Linked DNA regions of Homo sapiens: region 1 is linked to region 2. Evidence: promoter capture Hi-C in human tissues and cell types (Jung and others, 2019). All regions are on one chromosome and are shown on one strand. The core of a region is centred on a gene start or on the middle of the fragment in contact, and the rest is flanking DNA. Distances in the headings are between cores, read along the strand shown.

The links. The method cuts DNA at HindIII sites, captures the fragments that hold promoters and counts their contacts. A contact is called where the count stands out against the background at its distance.
Region 1: a fragment that was not itself captured here is called in contact with the fragment with the promoter of OR7G2 in region 2 in 4 of the 25 tissues and cell types used here (H1 embryonic stem cells, adrenal gland, dorsolateral prefrontal cortex and 1 more).

What each region holds. Positions count from the first base shown.
Region 1 is chr19:9,240,939-9,243,638 of GRCh38, forward strand. It overlaps a transcript of OR7E24 not described here. Among named protein-coding and RNA genes, the nearest start is that of OR7E24, 8.6 kb to the right of the region's middle. The HindIII fragment of the contact is 9,125 bases long and covers 1-2,700 here.
Region 2 is chr19:9,106,036-9,108,735 of GRCh38, forward strand. OR7G2 (olfactory receptor family 7 subfamily G member 2) reads right to left here and starts at 1,440. Exons shown (of 2, transcript NM_001005193.2): 1 at 1,279-1,440. The HindIII fragment of the contact is 11,921 bases long and covers 1-2,700 here.

The sequences.
Region 1 (2,700 bases), core at 62-2,561, 130 kb after region 2:
TCCCAGGTAGCTGGGATTACAGGTGCCCGCCACCACGCCTGGCTAATTTTTGTATTTTTGATGGAGATGGGGTTTCACATGTTAGTCAGGCCGGTCTTGAACTCCTGACCTCAAGTGATCCACCCGCCTCGGCCACCCAAATGCTGGGATTACAGGCATGAGCCATTGCGCCAGGCCTGTTGATCTGTTTTTTATTTGATTTGATTTTTGTACATGGCAGAAAGTAGGGTTCAATCTACTTTCCTTTGCATCGAGTTTGTTCTTGGAAGGGTTTAGTTTGTTGTGCTGTGAAACACCTTATTAATAACATCCACTTGGCAGCAGAATGTGTTAGCCTAGGGTTCAATCTGTCTAAGTGGTGGTTGTCAGAGAGATCATTGGGTTTATAAAAAGGTCACAAAGGCAAGATTATGTTTGACAGAGCCCTGCTCATGAACATTCAGTTCCTCAGCAGACCAGCCTCTTGTCCATGACAGATCAAGGTCTCAGAACTAAGTGGATGTTGTAGGTCCATTAGGCAAATGTGAATTTAAATATCCCGGCTCGACCAGGCTTGGTGGCTCATGCTTGTAATCCCAGCACTTTGGGGGCTGAGGTGGGTGGATCACTTGAGGTCACGAGTTCAAGACCAGCCTGGCCAATGTGGTGAAACCCCATCTCTGCTAAAAATGCAAAATTAGCTGGGTGTGGTGGTGGGTGCCTGTAATCTCAGCTACTTGGGAGACTGAGGCAGGAGAATTGCTTGAATCTGGGAGGTAGAGGTTGCAGTGAGCTGAGATTGCGCCATTGCATTCCAGCCTGGGCGACAGAGTGAGACTTTGTCTCAAAAACAACAACTACAAAACTAAAAGAAAACAAGAAATAAATATCCTGGCTCTTTTTCTCCTGAAAATCACATGCTTCATTTTTACTCTTCCCAAAACACTTGTGATTTGGCTTTTGCTACATGTTTTTACTTTAGGTTCTCTCAGTAACTCCCTTGGTAATTTCCTTCTAACTTTTCCGTTTTATATACAGTCTTTAAAGTTCCATCTTTGGTCCATTTTCTTAGAGCCACTCTTGAGAGTTCTCACGTGTTGTTTGAAACACTTATCATATCGAGTGCTGATATGATGACATGCTTTCCTCAAAAATTACCCATTTGCATGTTAGCACCCTTCACCTAAACTTGGTTGTGTTCTTGTTTCCTCTGGAAGAAATTGGATGAAAATCATACAATAGTCAAGGCAACGTGTTTCCCTTTTAGGATTGTGCTTGTTGCTTTACATGTATGGCTTTATTTAATCCTGAAAACATTTCTTTCTTTTTGTTTTTGTTTTGTTTTGTTTTGAGACACAGTTTCACTCTGTCACCCAGGCTGGAGTGCCATGGCGCTATCTCAGCCCACGGCAACCACCTCCCGGGTTCAAGCAATTCTTGTGTCTCAGCCTCCCAAGTAGCTGGAATTATAAGTGTGCACCACCACACCTGGCTAATTTTTTTTGTATTTTTAGTAGAGATGGGGTTTTGCCATGTTGGCCAGGCTGATCTCAAACTCCTGACCTCAAGTGATCCACCTGCCTCGGCCTCCCAAAGTGCTGGGATTATAGGCATGAGCCACCACAGTTGGCCCTGAAAACATTTCTTTGACATGTCTTTTCTCATTCACCTTGTTCCACAAAGGAAGAAGCAGATAGAGGTGAACTATAACCTGGCAACTTGACGTTGAGACCACACTCCAACTTTGCTATCCTTTATTTCATAAGAACAGTGATGTGATTTTTCACATCAAATTAGGAATGTAGATTTGTAAGCTTGTTTGTTCTGATGATTCATAGTAATGAACTGCCTAGAATAACTGAGACGTTGCTTCCTTCTTTGTGATTATTCCTTTTCTTCCCTCCCTCCCTCCTTTTTTACTTTCTTCCTTTCCTCTTCTTTCTTCCCTCATTCCCTCCTCTTTCTTCCCTCATTCCCTCCTCTTTCTTCTCTCATTCCCTCCTTCCTTCTTGTCTTTCTTTCTTTCCTTCTTTATTTGACCTTTATTTCCCATAATTGCAGTTTTATGATCTAACCCCAGATTGTAGAACATGTAATAATTATACGATAGAAAAGATTTGTTCTCTCATATAGTTTAATTTTCTTCTGAGACTTTCTGGAGATGTCTTCAGGAATGGAAGCCACAGAATGTGGACTGTGTTTGGGATGCAGTTCACCCTTTTGATGAGAACTGGTAGAACTGGGTCTGCAGTGAAGGATGGGGTAGTAGATGGTGTCAGGGTTCATCCCACATCCCTAAGACCCTCCCGCCATCTCCACACACACCATCCTGTCTGCCAATGGTCAGCATCAGCTGAGGGATCCACTTTCCCCAATGCATGGTGGCAGAAAGGTAATGAATGCTTACAATTTTATGTTGCTCTGGCATTTTTTTTTTTTTTTTTGAGCCAGTGTCTCACAGTATTGTGCAGGCTGGAGTACAGTGGCTCACTGAAATCTTGAACTCCTGGGCTCAAGTGATCCTCCTCAGTCTCCCAAGTAGCTGGGACTACAGGCATGCATCATCACACCCAGTTAGGGGGTCTCTCTATGTGACTCAGGCTTGTCTTGAAATCCTGGCCTCAAACCAGGATTGGCCACCTTGGCTTCCTGAAGCACTGGGATTGTAGGTGTGAACCACTGCACCTGGCAGGCATCTATTTTGAATACAGGCTTAGCTTT
Region 2 (2,700 bases), core at 190-2,689:
TCATTTTTATTATAGATTATTCATGTGTGAATTATTCAGAAAGTACGGAGAATAATGAAGGGCTGGCTACCCATCAGTCAACGATATAAGATTCACACAAGGCCAGGCGTGGTGGCTCAAGCCTATAATCCCAGCACTTTGGGAGGCTGAGGCAGGTGGATCACCTGAGATCAAGAGTTTGAGATCAGCCTGGCCAATATGGCGAAACCCCGTCTTTACTACAAATACAAAAAAATTAGCTGGGTGTGGTGGTGTGGTGCACGCCTGTAACCCCAGCTACTTGGGAGGCTGAGGCAGGAGAATCGCTTGCACCTGAGAGGCAGAGGTTGCAGTAAGCCGAGATCGTGCCACTGCACTCCAGCCTGGGTGACAGAGGGAGACTGTGTCTCAAAAAAAAAAAAAAAAATTCACACAATTCACCATCCTTGATTAGATATTTTTATTGCAAAAAGTAAAAAATATTTTTATTGCAATAAAGTGTGTATTTGAGGCTGGGCATGGTGGCTCATGCCTGTAATCCCAGCATTTTGGGAGGCTGAGGCAGGTGGATCATCTGAGGTCAGGAGTTCAAGACCAGCTGACCAATATGGTGAAACTCCGTCTCTACAGGAGAATCGCTTGAACCTGGGAGGCGGAGGTTGCAGTGAGCCGAGATCATGCCACTGCACTCCAGCCTGGGTGACAGAGCAAGATTCCATCTCAAAAAAAAAAAAAAAAAAGTGCATATTTCAAAACCACCGCTTCATGTTTTTGATTTTTTTTCCCTTCCCTAGGGGAACCAGTACACACACTTGATCTATATTATTCTTCTATACCTTTCATTATATTTGATATTATTCTTCCAAATAATAACAATGGCATTGTGTTGCATTTTAAAAGCTTTATATAGCCAGGCACTGTGGCTCACATCTATAATCCGGGTCCTTTGGGAGGCTGAGGCGGGAGTACAAGAGGCCAGGAGTGTAAGACCAGCCTGGGCAACGTAGTGAGAACCTGTGTCTACAAAAAAAATTTAAAAATTTGCAAAGTGTAATGGCATGCACCTGTAGTCCCAGTTACTCAGTAGGCTGAGGCTGAAGGATTGGTTGATCCAGGAATTCAAGACTGCAGTGAGCTATGATCGAGTCACCACACTCCTTCCAGGCAACAGAGTGAGACCTTGTCTCTAAAAAAACCCCAAAAAACAAAACCACCTGCCCTCATTTCCAAAGCATTAATTAACTAAAGGACTTTGGGTTAACTGATTGGCTTCAACAAAAATGATGCTCAACAACTCACATGGATATTGCAGAGGATGATCTATCCTCAGGAAGTGCAGACAGACTCGAGTCCTGGTCAAAAATATCATGTCTGGAAGGAGGTTCTGATGCAGCTTCCGAGCTGGGTAAGAGATGTTCAGTGAGGTGCTTACAGCCTGACTTGTTGCACTGTCTATATCCCTGGGACCTCAATATCCAACGCTCCTCATTACACTGGCTATTTTACCATCGTTCTGATCCCAGGAGTGCACATCCTTAAAGACCAAGACTAGAGGAGTGAGGAATTCGGGATGGCTGAGTCCCTGTCCCCTGAGGCCACGTGTACACCATCCATATCTCTCCATTGTTTCTGCTCACCTCCACTTCACGAATCTTGCTCCCAGAACACATACCATTCGTCTAGTAAAAAAAAGGATTTTGATCTGAAGAATGTGAGTTCTCTTCATTGTCAGACCCGGAAAGACATTAAAATGAGACAGAAACCACACCCCTCCTCCCCTCCTTTGAACTATGCATTCATCTCATAAAACTGCTTGCTGTTGCCACAAGTAGCTATAAATTAACCTAATAATAGCATATGAATTAAAAAGAAATTATTTAGGCAGTTAGTGAGGGTACAGAAGTCCTGGGTAAGGTTTTTCTTTTTAATAAAAAGCAGCCCCCAAATCATTTCTTTTCAGGCAAAAAGTAGCCTGAAAAATCAAGCTGCAAGCATAGGTAAGCAAGCTGAAAGCCTGCGTAGGTGAATGCCAGCAGCTGTGCCAGAAGACAGGTATAACCAACATGAAGGTTTTCTTTTTTCTTCTTTCTTTCTTTCTTATTCTTTTTTTTTTTTTTTTTTTTTTTTTTTTGAGACAGTCTCACTCTATCACCCAGGCCGGAATGCAGTGGCGCCATCTCAGCTCACTGCAACCTCTGCCTCTGGGTTCAAGTGATTCTTGTGCCTCAGCCTCCAGAGTAGCTGGGATTACAGGCGAGTGCCACCACACCTGGCTAATTTTTGTATTTTTAGTAGAGATGAGATTTGATGCTGGGCGTGGTGGCTTATGCATGTAATCCCAGCACTTTGGGAGGCTGAGGTGGGTGGATAACCTGAGGTCAGGAGTTTGAGACCAGCCTGGCCAATATGGTGAAACCTTGTCTGTACTAAAAATACAAAAATTAGCCAGGCGTGGTGACAGGCACCTGTAGTCCCAGCTACTCGGGAGGCTGAGGCAGGAGAATCGCTTGAACCCAGGAGGTGGAGGTTGCAGTGAGCTGAGATCGTGTCCCTACACTCCAGCCTGGGTGACAGAGCAAGACTCCATCTCAAAAAAAAAAACAAAAACAAAAACAAAAAACCCTTAACCTGTAAGCCATCTGCAAGTTTGGGTCTTACATGTAAACTAGCTGGGCACAGTGGCTCACGCCTGTAATCCCAGCACTTTGGGAGGCTGAGGCA